4 separate regions of the Homo sapiens genome follow, and all the other regions are linked to region 4. The links are contacts of gene promoters, found by promoter capture Hi-C in blood cells and fetal thymus (Javierre and others, 2016). All regions are on one chromosome and are shown on one strand. The core of a region is centred on a gene start or on the middle of the fragment in contact, and the rest is flanking DNA. Distances in the headings are between cores, read along the strand shown. Region 1 has its middle 12 kb from the start of OPN1LW. Region 2 holds the start of MECP2 (methyl-CpG binding protein 2). Region 3 overlaps PDZD4 (PDZ domain containing 4). Region 4 holds the start of HCFC1-AS1 (HCFC1 antisense RNA 1).

What was found. The method cuts DNA at HindIII sites, captures the fragments that hold promoters and counts their contacts. A CHiCAGO score of 5 or more calls a contact.
Region 1: a contact is called between a fragment that was not itself captured here and the fragment with the promoter of HCFC1-AS1 in region 4, in 1 of 17 cell types (naive CD4 T cells). The highest score is 5.1, in naive CD4 T cells.
Region 2: a contact is called between a fragment that was not itself captured here and the fragment with the promoter of HCFC1-AS1 in region 4, in 7 of 17 cell types (M2 macrophages, M1 macrophages, activated CD4 T cells and 4 more). The highest score is 10.2, in M2 macrophages.
Region 3: a contact is called between a fragment that was not itself captured here and the fragment with the promoter of HCFC1-AS1 in region 4, in 5 of 17 cell types (non-activated CD4 T cells, activated CD4 T cells, naive CD4 T cells and 2 more). The highest score is 6.1, in non-activated CD4 T cells.

The regions. Positions count from the first base shown.
Region 1 is chrX:154,130,214-154,133,642 of GRCh38, reverse strand. No RefSeq gene overlaps it. Among named protein-coding and RNA genes, the nearest start is that of OPN1LW, 12 kb to the left of the region's middle. The HindIII fragment of the contact is 8,995 bases long and covers 1-3,429 here.
Region 2 is chrX:154,096,188-154,099,693 of GRCh38, reverse strand. MECP2 (methyl-CpG binding protein 2) reads left to right here and starts at 1,977. Exons shown (of 3, transcript NM_001110792.2): 1 at 1,977-2,090. The coding sequence starts at 2,029. RefSeq lists silencers at 1,692-2,051, 2,137-2,375, 2,352-2,411, 2,472-2,551 and an enhancer at 2,872-2,961. The HindIII fragment of the contact is 4,609 bases long and covers 1-3,506 here.
Region 3 is chrX:153,823,087-153,826,183 of GRCh38, reverse strand. The region is part of intron 1 of PDZD4 (PDZ domain containing 4); the gene reads left to right. Among named protein-coding and RNA genes, the nearest start is that of PDZD4, 5.9 kb to the left of the region's middle. The HindIII fragment of the contact is 1,830 bases long and covers 364-2,193 here.
Region 4 is chrX:153,966,825-153,970,067 of GRCh38, reverse strand. It overlaps HCFC1-AS1 (HCFC1 antisense RNA 1), which reads right to left and starts at 1,303. Exons shown (of 3, transcript NR_046608.3): 1 at 998-1,303; 2 at 697-869; 3 at 1-283. All of the region lies in intron 1 of HCFC1 (host cell factor C1), which reads left to right. RefSeq lists a silencer at 666-844 and an enhancer at 3,070-3,243. The HindIII fragment of the contact is 6,911 bases long and covers 1-1,793 here.

The sequences.
Region 1 (3,429 bases), core at 882-3,381, 160 kb before region 4:
GACAAAGAGATTTTAAAGCTCACAATACAATCTTTCAGAAGGTAAAAAGTCATCGTGCTGAGAGCACTTGTGTTAGCTCTTGCATAAAAAAATAAACATTTAAAATTCATCCCAAGAAGTTATGCATTACCAAAATATTTTGTGTTTTTGTTGTTGTTTGAGACAGAGTCTCACTCTGTCACCCACGCTGGAGTGCAGTGGCACGATCTCCAATCACTGCAGCCTCTGCCTCCTGGTCTCAAGCGATCCACCTCAGCCTCCCAAGTAGCTGGGACTACAGGTGTATGCCACCATACATGGCTAATTTTTTGTGTATTTTTTGTAGAGATGGGGGTTTCACCATGTTGGCCAGGCTGGTCTCGAACTCCTGGGCTCAAATGATACTCCTGCCTTGGCCTCCCAAAGTGCTGGGATTATAGTTGTGAGCCACCACGCCTGGCCAATATGGTGGTTTTTAATTAAAGTGAAAATCACATAACATAAAATTAGTCATCTGAAAGTGTACAGTGTAGTGACATTTAGTGCATTTACTAATGCACGTTGTGCCACCATCACCACTATGTACTTTCAGAATATTTCATCATGCCGTACAGAAACCCCGTGTCCATTACGTGGCCACTCCCCATCCCCTAATCCCTCAGCCCCTGGCACCCGCTAATCTGCTGTCTGTGTCTATGAATTCCTCTATTCTGGATATTTCACATAAAGTGGCTCATCTGATATGTGACTTTTCATGTGTGGCTTCTTTCACTGAGCAAAATGCTTTTGAGGATCTATCTGAATTTCAGCATGTATCGGTACTTCATTCCTTTTTACCGAAACACATTGAAATTAGTGACATTTTTATACATTTACAGGATAGTTTTTGTTTGTTTGTTTGTTTGTTTGTTTGTTTTGAGACAGGATCTTGCTCTGTGACCCAGGCTGCAGTAGTGGCACGATCACAACTCACTGCAGTCTCGACCTCCTGGGCTCCAGCGATCCTCCTGCCTCAGCCTCTCGAGGTACCTGGGACTACAGCCACACACCACCATGCCCAGCTAATTTTTGTATTTTTTCTGTAGAGACAGGGTCTCGCTATATAGCCCAGGCTGGTCTCCAACTCCTAGCTTCAAGCGACTCTCCTGCCTTGGCCTCCCAAAGCACTGGGATTACAGGTGTGAACCACTGCTCCCAGGCTGCAGGGTAGATTTTTTAATTCCATTGAGTCACTTTTCGTAACTACAAGCCTCATTCTTCTCGGCATCAGCCTTTATTCGTGTGCACCATACAGTGGGTTACCCAAGCCAGGCAAAGGGGCAAACCTGGATGGTCCCAAGCAGCCAGGTACCAAACACGGTGGTCCGAAGACCCTTGTCAGTGTTGTTATTAATTTGAGGACTGATCTTGGAGAAGTCCAGTACCAAAGAGAGTTGCCAGGAGACACGGGTCAGTTGCTTAAGAGAGGAGCACAGCTGCCCTAGAACAAGAAAGGCCCATGGCCTTGACAGTGTAACCAGAGTCCCAATATTTGATAACAACACACAGGAGAAGGTAACATGGTAAGCAGTGGGAATTTTAGCTCCTCCACAAAGGAAGAGCCTTTGCTCTTTGTTCTGTTCGATTGCTTGTTCTCTTATAATTGGCTGCAGTTATGAAATAACCATGCCAAGGGGCAGCATAAAAGCACCTCTGTTAACAGATTTGCAGTGCTGTGAGCTCCTAGTAGGGTGAGAAAAAAAACCTCTGGCTCTAGATAGGATACTTGAGGTTGAAAATATATTGATTACTTAAAGACCCTTTACTCCCTTGCGCCCAGGCCTCTGCACTCCATCATACAGAAACTTTAAAAAACATTCATTGATGTAATACACCTCTATGTATGTTTATGTAAACATACACTTATATGCAGTCACAGTAAAAGATGTTCACGGCCAGGCATGGTGGCTCATGCCTATAATCCCAGCACTTTGGGAGGCTGAGGCAGACAGATCACCTGAGGTCAGAAGTTTGAGGCCAGCCTGGTCAACATGGTGAAACCCCATCTCTACTAAAAATACAGAAATTAGCCAGGCATGGTGGTGTGTGCCTGTAATCCCAGCTACTTGGGAGCCTGAGGCAGGAGAACTGCTTGAACCTGAGAGACAGAGGTTGCAGGGAGCCGAGATCACGCCGCTGCACTCCAGCCTGGGCAACAGAGTGAGACTCCATCTCACACACACACACACACACACACACACACACACAGATGTTCAGGTAGTGGTATTATTTACTGCTTTAAAAGTTTAGGTTTTATAGTAAAAATTTAAAAATCAGGCATAGGTTGGGCGTGGGGGCTCATGCCTGTAATCCCAGCACTTTGGGAGGCCAAGATGGGAGGATTGCTTGGAGGCCAGGTGTTCGAGAGTAGGCTGGGCAACACAGCAAGGCCCCATCTCTACAAAAAGTAAAAATGCAAAAATTAGCAGGGTGTAGTGGCACCCGCATGTGATCCCAGCTACTTGGGAGGCTGAGGTGGGAGGATCACTTGAGCTCAGGAGTTTGAGGCCACAGTGAGCTAGGATTGCACCAGTGCACTCCAGCCTGGGTGACAGAGTGAGACTCGGTCTCTAAAAAAAAAATAAGTAAAAATTCAGGCATAGCACAAAACAATGTTTAGACTACAGTGATTTTCTGATTTATGAGTGTTGTGTGGCACCATTGTGTTTATGCATAGACTAGAATACATATATGTCAGAAATAACTGTGTGTGTTTGCATTTTGTCTTTATGAATTTTCATTCCTTTGGAGATTATCCAGGTAAATATACTTGCTAATTACCTCAATTTATTGTCTACCCCAGGTATCAAAGTCAGTAGATGAGGGAATCTTAGAAATTATACTAGGCTGCCTGGGCGTGTTGGCTCACACCTGTAATCCCAGCACTTTGGGAGGCCAGGTGAGCGGATCACGAGGTCAGGAGTTCAAGACCAGCCTGGCCAACATGGTGAAACCCTGTCTCTACTAAAAATACAAAAATTAGCTGGGTGTGGTGGCGCACGCCTGTAATCTCACCTACTCGACAGGCTGAGGCAGGAGAATCGCTTGAACCCAGGAGGCGGAGGTTACAGTTGGCCAAGATCATGCCACTGCACTCCAGCCTGGCAACAGAGCAAGACTCCATCTCAAAAAAAAAAAAAAAGAAAAAAAAAGAAAAAAAGAAATGATAGTAGCACAATATGATCACACTTCATGAATAAAATTTGACAAATATGACACTACAATTTATTCCGTTTACAAGGTGGAGTAACTTTGTAGGGCTACACAATTACTGCTATTGTTGGAAGTTTAAAAGGTTGATTTTAAAAATACAGATATTCATTATTATAACTCAGTTTAGCTCAACTCGTGTTTACATTTACAAAACCTTAGATATTTAGTGTAAGAAATGCTGACGTACGTGATCTGCAA
Region 2 (3,506 bases), core at 908-3,407, 130 kb before region 4:
GCCCTACATCCAATCCTTTTGTTCAGTTCTGAAAACATATCTTGAATCTCACAACTTCTCAGAGCTGCACTGCTGCCACCCTAGTTAAAGCTACCATCAACTCTTTCTCCTAGACTGTTCCAGGGCCTTGCAACTAGCCTTGTGCTGTAGTTTTGTTTCATCACGTCCAGTTCTCCACTCTACACCTGCAACATAGATCAGACAGCTCCTGGCTCAAAATCCTCTGAGGGCTTCTCATCTTAGAATAAACTCTCGGTTCTGGCCGGGTGCGGTGGCTTACGCCTGTAGTCCCAGCACTTTGGGAGTCCGAGGCGGGCGGATCACTTGAACTCAGGAGTTTGAGACCAGCCTGGGCAACATGGTGAACTCCCATCTCTATCAAAAATACAAAAACTTAGCCAGGCGTGGTGGTTCGCATCTGTGGTCCCAGCTACTTAGGACGCTGAGGAGGGAGGATCGCTTGAGCTCAGGGTGGACGTTGCAGTGAGCCAAGATTGCGCCACTGCACTGCAGCCTGGGTGACAGAATGAGACCCCATCCCCACCCCCCCCAAAAAAGAATGAACTCCCAGTTCTCATAGTGGCCCCAGCTGCCTTTCCAATCACATTCCCTACCACTCTCCAGCAACACTGACTTCCTCGTTAGTCCCCAACATGCCAGGCATAGTCTCTCCTCATGTCCTTTGAACTTGCCTGGAATGTTCTTTCCCCAGATATTCATATGAGGGAGTAAAATGAGGGTGAAAACCAGCAGATATCTAAATAGCACCCCCTTCACTTAGTTTATCTTTCTCAAAGCCCTTATCACTATGTGAAATGATATATTATACTTATTTGTATGCTAGTATGAATCTTCCCGGCAAGAATGTTAGTTTGCTGTCTGTTCAGTACCGTGCATCCAGAGCCTGGAAGAGTGCCTGGCACATAGCAGGTAGTCAATAAATGAATGGGGGCAAGCAGCCAAATCAGAATCAGGTTTTCTTGCTAAGCATAGAACTAACAGAAGGATCATTGAATGGATTGGATAATGACTGGCATCAGGGTAAGGTCCCCTTAACAAACACTCCTGTCCTGAACACCTGGTTAGCTAACAGTTTTCTCATACTCTTATTTTCCCAAAACACAATTGCTGGATCTCAGCTCCAAATCAACTCTTCTAGGAAAGTGAAAAATTGCTGGATCTCAGCTCCCAAATCATATCTTCCAGGCAGAGCTAACATTGCCCCTTATTCACACCTCCACCAAACCATCTGATCCAACAGTGACAGGTGTCACGAGGCCTTGGCATGCACTCTCTTCCCCCGCCAGAGTTCTGCGAAAGCCAGGGTTGCGATTTGTTGTCAGTTTATTCCCCGCCTCTATGAGAGTGTGAGCACTGGGCAGGCTCGGATGAAATAATGCATTGAGTAGGCCTCTGAAACCAAGGCCCCTCAGCTGGGGCAACGTCAGGCTCCAGGGTGGGCAACTTTGCTGCTTCTGCCGAAGATAGTGATATTGAGAAAATGTGGGTGCAATGAAACGCTTATTGCAGCGCACTCGGTGCATCTGTGGACAGAGGGTCAATCGCCCCTCAGAGCAGCGCAAACAGGCGTCCCAAGCCTAGGCCTTCACTTGCCCCAGCATCCGCAAGGGTCCATTAATCCTTAACATTCAAATTCCGCCCACTAAACCAGTCCCTCCGCGCCCAAGCCGCCTCTTTTCCCCAAACGACGGCCGAAAGCAGCCAATCAACAGCTGGAGGGGTCCGCCCCCTTTTCCCTGGCCGAAATGGACAGGAAATCTCGCCAATTGACGGCATCGCCGCTGAGACTCCCCCCTCCCCCGTCCTCCCCGTCCCAGCCCGGCCATCACAGCCAATGACGGGCGGGCTCGCAGCGGCGCCGAGGGCGGGGCGCGGGCGCGCAGGTGCAGCAGCGCGCGGGCCGGCCAAGAGGGCGGGGCGCGACGTCGGCCGTGCGGGGTCCCGGCGTCGGCGGCGCGCGCGCTCCCTCCTCTCGGAGAGAGGGCTGTGGTAAAAGCCGTCCGGAAAATGGCCGCCGCCGCCGCCGCCGCGCCGAGCGGAGGAGGAGGAGGAGGCGAGGAGGAGAGACTGTGAGTGGGACCGCCGTGGCCGCGGGCGGGGACCCTTGCCGGGGGGCGGGGGTCAGGGGCGGGACGTGGCGCGGGAGGGGCCCGCGGGGTCGGACGACACGGCTGGCGGATGGCGTCCCTCCTCTCTACCCTCCCCCTCCCGCCGCCGCCGGTGGCGACTCTCCCCTCGGCCCGTCACCCCTGCTCGCGGGTGACCGTCCTCGGCGCGGCCTCCCTGGAGCCGCCTTCGCCTGACGCCCCTCTTCCTCCCGCCCTCGACGCGCATCCCGGCCCCCGGCCCCGCGGGCGCCCCTGTCGCCGGGGCTTCGCCTGTCGGGGCTGCGCGCGCTCCTGCCCTTCTCGGGGCTTTGGGCCGCGGCGCCGTCGCGCGCCCGCGGCCCCGGCCTCTCCCTGGATCGCGCTCTCCCCCTCCCTCCCTCGCGCGCCCCCTCTCCCGTTACTCGGCCCCCCCACCGGCGCGCGTGCGCACTTCGCCTCCCGTCGGGAGAGTGCGCCACAAGGGCTCCTGAGCTCTCACCCCCATCTCTGGGCTTTGCCTCCCCCTCCTTCTCGCCCATTCCATGAATTTCTGCCCCCCGCTACCCCCCCGCGAGCGAGTAGGTCCACCGGCTCCTTTCCCCATCTAGCAGGAACAAGTAGGTGGGGATTATTATCCACAAAAGGGACTAGACATTGTGTTCTGGGTCCCACAACTCATCATAAAGAGGTGGTTATAGTTCCCATCAGGAGCCGTGGGTAGGGGACTGTGCGTCCAGCAGCACCCGAGGCTCTTCGGCGCCAGAGGCTCTAAGGTGCGAGCGTGTCCCCAGGGTGCTCAGAGGTTCTTTGGAGTGCTGTGGCCTCGGAATGTGAGCACCCTCCCATCCTACCCTCCCCTTCGCCGGCGATCTTCCAGTTACATAAGTGGAGTGGGACATAGTAGGTAACGGGCTCTCATCGCCCTGGAGCGCTCGGGATCACCGGTACCAGATGGGGCAAGTTCATCGCGACGCTGTGGCTCCTGTTAATTGTGCCTGAAAGGTTATCCTCTGTTCAGTTTGGTCATGACCGAATCACCCAAACTGAAACTCAGATGACTTTTATATGGCAGTGGCAATGTTTCTGTGGTTTTGCACTAAAGACTTAAGGTCATTATGAAGAGTGTAAAAGGATTGCTGTCGCAGGGGAGACCGTTTATGACATTGCTAAGTATGGACCCCGAGGGGGAAAAAGCTCATTCTGGAATTGCTCTGTGGCGGTTGCTTCTGTTGCGAGTGTGTTCGGGTGTGGGTTGGTCACAGCAGAAATGGGCTCCACCACAAAATTGATATTCCTGACTCATGGTCAGGCAGATGTGTGCTTCTGGTTATTTTTCCAGGAACAGGAATGGGCTCTGCCGAGCCTTTCACACGTTGTGTCTCTGCTGTGCGGGATCAG
Region 3 (3,097 bases), core at 29-2,528, 140 kb after region 4:
GTGCAGTGGTGCAATCTCGGCTCACTGCAGCCTCCGCCTCCCGGGTTCAAGTGATTCTCCTGCCTCAGCTTCCCATGTAGCTAGGATTACAGGCACACACTACCACACCCAGCTAATTTTTGTATTTTTAGCAGAGACGAGCTTTTGCCATGTTGGCCAGGCTAGTCTTGAACTCCTGGCCTCAAGCAATCCTGCCCGCCTCGGCCTCCCAAAGTGCTGGGATTACCGGTGTAAACCACCGTTCCTGGCCCTTCGATTTCTTTTTCTTGTTAATTTGCTCTGGCTGGAGTCTCTAGTACAATGTTGAATAGAAGTGCCTGTGAATGTCTTTCCCTTGTTCCTCATCTTAAAGGTAAAGAAGCTTCCAGTCTTTCACTAGGGGGTATAAAGTTAGCTGTGGCTTTTTCATAGCTGTCCTTTATCAGGGTAAGGAAGTTCCCATTCTATTCCTAGTGTGTTTTTATCATGAGAGGCATTGGATTGTGCAGTGCTGCTTCTGTGGCTAGTGAGATGACCACATGGTTCCTTTATTCCACGGATGTGGGTTGTCACAGGCACTTTCGTGTGTCATGTCGGAACCTCAGCCCCATTCCTATATTCCAATCATGTCCTCCTAGTTTGGAAAATCTGGGACCTCCCCTGAAAATGGAGGATTACTGCGTGTTGAGTTAGGAAAAGGAAGCAGGCTGGTTGCCCAGAATGGAAGGCAGGAAACAGCATGTCCCCAGCTCCGGAGCCTTTTCTGCAGCCCATGTCCCTCCACTGCCACCAGGCCCCCTTGTCATATATCTCATCGTGGTCCACACTCTGCTGAACTTGTCTTGGCCTTGGCACCCCCTCTCTGACACCATGATGTGCTTGCTAGCATCCGAGCACGCCGGAGATGGTCAGGGGATAAACCCCTGGTACTTAGGACTGGTCTCCCGCCCATCCTACTCAGGCTTTACAGGGGGAGTGGGTCAGGACCGCCTGTCATCTCCCCTCTGTCCACATCGAGGGAGGCCAAAGGACAGCTGGCCAGCCCTTCTGGTGATCTCCCAGGCATTCTTGCCTAAAGCACCTGCATGTGAGCCCCCATGGTGCTGGCAGCCATCCTGGGTGCGTGGCATTCAGCAGGGAGACACTGCAGACAGGGCCTTGCCCCTCCCCCAGACTCCCCTTTTGTTGTTGTTGTTGTTGTTGTTTGAGACAGAGTTTCGCTCTTGTTGCCCAGGCTGGAGTGCAATGGTACGATCTGGGCTCACCAAAACCTCCGCCTCCAGGGTTCAAGCGATTCTCCTGCCTCAGCCTCCCGAGTAGCTGGGATTACAGGCATGCGCCACCATGCCTGGCTAATTTTGTATTTTTAGTAGAGATGGGGTTTCTCCATGTTGGTCAGGCTGGTCTTGAACTCCCGACCTCAGGTGATCCACCCACACCGGCCTCCCAAAGTGCTGGGATTACAGGAGTGAGCCACCACGCCTGGCCCCAGGCTCCCCTTTTTGTAAGGGGGAGACCATCGCCAACATGTAGGCAACTGCGGGGGAGAGAAAGTACTGCTTGAGTGCGGGAGCGTGGCTGGCAGCCAGTGTCCCCTCTTCAGCGACGTCTTCCTCCAAACTGCTCTCCCACCCACCAAGCCAGGTGGCTTCTCTGGCTCCCTCCTGCTTGCATGGGGGCTTCCTGTGAGCAGGGATTTGGGTCTGGCATGGGCACTCTGCCTCCCCGCCTCACCAGCACCAGATGCTGCCAGCACATCCACGCTGGCCTCCACCCTTCCAGGGGAAAGCTGGACTCTCAGTCAACTCAGTGGTTCTGCCGCAGAAGCTGACTGGGGAAGAAGCAGGCTCTGAGAAAGTCCTTGTGGAGTGGAAGAACAGAGGGCTGGACACTGAATTCTGACTGCCATCTTCTGGACCAGGTCATCCTGTTTTGTGTCATTGTCCCAAGATTGTAGAATGCCCTTTCCCCTCTCATCTCGGGGTTCCTGAGGACTGTCCAGTCTGCTGAAATGAAATTCGATAGTGCCAGAGAGCAGATTCGTGGTTGCAGGGATGGGCAGAGGGGCATGAGGACACTTTTGGGGAAGATAGAAATGGCCACTGTCCTGACGGTGGTGATGGTTCCCCAGGTTCATGTATGACATATGAACACCTGCCCTTTGCACACTGAAGATGTGCAGGTTACCACCCAGCAACAGACCTCACCAAAGCTTTAGAACAGGAACTCCATGGCCACATGCACGCATCCTGGGGAGAAAGGTGTCCTTTCCTTCCTTCTACTTCAGGGGCCCTGCCAGAGAAGGCAGTGCAGTGTGGAGATAGGAATGGAGGCAGCCACCAACTGACAGCTGTGTGGCCAGGGGCAAGTCGCTGCATGGCCCACTGGCTCAGTGACTCAGTTTCCTCAACTGTGAAATGGCAGTGAAGAGTGCTTGCGTCCGAGGGCCATTGTGACAAGGAAAACAGATGGTGTGTCCCCCGGGATCTCACTGGGTGGAGGAGGGAGTTGCTGCCCTCGGGCCATTCAGTTGGTCATTAAGAAGTGGAAATTGGCTGGGTGCGGTGGCTCACGCCTGTAATCCCAGCACTTTGGGAGGCCGAGGCGGGTGGATCATGAGGTCAGGAGTTCGAGACCAGCCTGGCCAGCATGGTGAAACCCCATCTATACTAAAAATACAAAAAATTGACCAGGCGTGGTGGCTCACGCCTGTAATCCCAGCACTTTGGGAGGCTGAGGTGGGCGGATCACCTCAGGTCAGGAGTTCGAGACCAGCCTGACCAACATAGAGAAACCCCATCTCTACTAAAAATACAAAATTAGCCGGGCATGGTGACACATGCCTGTAATCCCAGGTACGCGGGAGGCTGAGGCAGGAGAATTGCTTGAACCCGGGAGGTGGAGGTTGTGGTGAGCTGAGATCACGCCATTGCACTCCAGCTTGGGCTCGAAACTCCATCTCAAAAAAAAATATATATATATATATTAGCTGGGCATCATGCACCTGTAGTCCCAGCTACTCGGGAGGCTGAGGCAGGAGAACTGCTTGAACTCAGCAGGTGGAGGTTGCATGAGCCAAGATCAAGCCACTGCACTCCAGCCTAGGTGACAGAACGAG
Region 4 (3,243 bases), core at 54-2,553:
GAAAAAGGGAGGGAAGGGAAGCGCTCTTAGGACGCAGAGTTTAACATCCGCCGACCCGGGTAATGCCGGAGCCTTGGGGACCCCTAGGACGGGCCGGCGGCAGGGCCGCCTCTCCCTTTCCACGTTTACTTCTGCAGCATTTCTTTCCAAGTCGCCCCTTCTCCTAATCTGGTGCCTTCTGGTTTACAAGCTGAATTCCAGTTACCCCTCAGCGGCCTGCGTAGTCGTGTGTCTCCCCGCTTCTGCGGATCCAGGGGGTTACCCCACCCGCTCTTCTGCCTCCCTGCAAAACCCAAAGCCCGTTAGTTGGGAAGGGGAGGAACCTCTCTCTTCAGGTATGGCTGATGCACCACGGCCTTCGTGGGGGCCGTTTGTTGTTGCCTCTGCCTAGTAGCCTTGCTTAGTCTCTAGGGCAGAAAGCCTGCTGCTGTCCACGACAGCTTTGTGGCATCCTTTTTCTTGGTGGCTACTTGGCCCGTTTTGTGCCCCTAGCACAAGGGTCAGTTCCCAAGTTGCCTACTGACTGCCCGTTGGCCCACAGGACCCTGGCCTTGCCCAGAAGGCAGGGTCAGGGTGAGTTCGGTCCCAGGCAAGAGCTGGAAGAGTCTGGGTGAGGGAAAAGCCCCCTGCAGGCGGCTGGGGGAGGGCCTTGGGATGCCCTAGTCCTGAGTGGCAGGCACGGCTCCCAGCACTAACCCCTTGCTCCGCGGCCGTTCTCTCCTGGGGGCTCTAGCGATCCCCTGGCCTCGGTGGTGGCCCTGCAGACAAACCCTCGCTGAGTGGGCTTTGTGTCCTGAGCGGTGAGAGGCTGCTGTTCTTTGGCTGAGCTCCAGTGCCTCGATGCTCTGGGGGTGGGAAGCTGGAGCTGCCTGGAGGGAGAAAGTTGGTTTAGGGAGTTGGGAAGGCTGGAGCTGGGCTCTTGGGTGCCGCTTCCTTCCCCACCCCCCAAGGCAGAAAGTGCTGGTTTCTCCACATCTCGGAGATTATCGCCACCTACCACGTTGACTTTGAAAGGCTGGTGGGTTGTCTGTGACCGTTTTTCGTTCCAGGTCTCTCAGCACCTGTTGCCTCCAGGGAGCAGGGCCTTTCTCAGCAGCCCCCGGGCGGGGGCGCTTGGTGGTTGGTGGTGCCCCGCGCCAGCCCAGGCAGCTGCAGTAGCAGGAATTAGCTCAGTAAGCTAAGGCTTCTCCAGTGGTGGGGCTGTTTATAGAGGCACCGTCACCATGAGCAGCACCTTCTCCACTCTGTGGACCGACTTTCTTCTCATAAGGCCTGGAGCAGGCTCCCTGGCAGGGAAATGCAATTTTAGAAAGTAGGGCAGGGGCCTAATTACAGTCGGCTCCAGAGTCCACCACCACTGCTGCCTTGGCTTCCTGGGGCCTCTGCATATTCATTAGTTTATTAAAATGAATTGACCACTTTGGCATGAATTCATTACCAGTCTGCAAAGACAGGTTGTGCATTAGAGGGGTAGCCTGCCTTCCAAAGGGCTGCTTAAAATGAAGCTCTGGGATCCTCCAGGGTAGCAGTTTGGAAACTGTCATCGGCAATTCCTCAGACGAGAGAGCAGCTGGCAGACCTGAAGCCCTCTTCCTCACCGGGGTTTCTGCCCCCTCCCGCCAGCCCGGCCTCGTCACCTTTGTCTTGTCTTCTTTTGTTGTGTTTGGGATGAGATCAGGGCATATTCTCACGCCTGTGCCCCTTGCAGTTCTGCGGGATCAGTCCTCAAAAAGCCTTGTACCTTTGGAGAGAGCTGATCTGGAAGGGGTTCCCGTTGCTAGGATAAGAAAGCTTCAGGGGGTGTGTGCTTTGAGAGCTCTTAGGGTAGCTACTGTGCTTGTCCTTAGGGAATTTTAGTTCCATGTGGCAAGCCAAAGGATTCAGAGTGCTGCCAGGTGTGGGGGGTGGGGGAGCGAGAGCTTTGGCTACGGTGGCTCTGTAATGTCCATAGGTTCTTGGAGCTGGAGGGAGCCTTGGAAAATACCTAGTGGAACTACTTCCTTGTTTCTGCAGATGAGGAAATTGGGGTCCAAGAGGGGAAGTGACAGGTCCAGGGTCGCCCTCCCAGCTGGTGGCGGAGTTGGGCGGGAGTGCAAACCTTCATAGAGGCCGTTCTGCCACCTGTCTTTGGGGCCCATCACCTTTGAAATGCCTCCATTCTCTCCTCTGTCCCTGTATCTAATTGTTCATTGCGTTGGGCAGGCATCAAATGTGTCCCCTTCCACACCAAGCCCTCCTCTCCTCTTACTAGACTCTTGCAGTCACTTCCTGATTGGCCCTGCTAGTTTCATTTGTCGGGAAATCCTGTTCACCCTTCAAGGCCCGGCTGAAACGTCACCTCTTCTGAGAAGCCCTTTCCACTCCTGTCCTCCCCTCTCCAGCAGTCGCACTGCTCTGTGCTCCCAAGGGCCCGGCTTGGTCAGAGCTCTTCTAGGGTGTTTGTCTCATCGTGGGAGGGGGGCATGCAGCCTTCCTACCCCATTGGGAGTATGAGCACAAGATCGGTGTCCTCTGTGCCTCCCAGCACGTCGTATGCCACACAGGAAATGCTCTAATGTGACAGGTAGAACAGAGAGGAAGGCAGCTCGTTGAACTTGACCGGCCACCTCACTGCATGGGCACCAGTCTCTAGGTGGTGATGGGACAGTGGCAACCAGGGATGGAGCTTGCAGAGCATGAAGTGGTTGGGGGAGCTGATGAAACACAGAGAGGCCGGGGCACAGCCTTGCTCAGGAGAGGGGAGCTGGAGTGGTCTTCATCTAGTGCAGGGTCCTTTCCCCACCTTCCCCTCCCAGCTGAGAGCCAGCATTTCCAGGATGAGGGGCCCAAGGATTGGGTTACATGACACCCCCCAGATGATTCAGGGGTGACTGAGAGCAGCTGTCACATTGAAAAGCTGGGAGAAGGGAGGAGAGCTTGCTCGTGTGCTTTCAGGGGGCGGAACCAGGACTCGTGGGTGAGATGAGGAGCCGCAGGTTTGTCGTCACACCAGGAGCTGTGCTCCCTGACAGACCTCTCTTGACGGGGGTGGGGAGGGCCCCTGCCCTGCCTGGAGTGTTCTAGAATGAGATCAGCACCTCTTGGGTCCTGTAGAAGGATCTGGTGAGCGGGATCCCCAAAGATATCACAGGGCGCTTCTGGCCTGGCCCACCGGCTCACTGATCAGCGTGTGATAGGAAAGCTGCCCACTGACCCCACGTGCCATTTAGCTTTGTCCCAAACTCTGACCCGCAGCCCCATAGC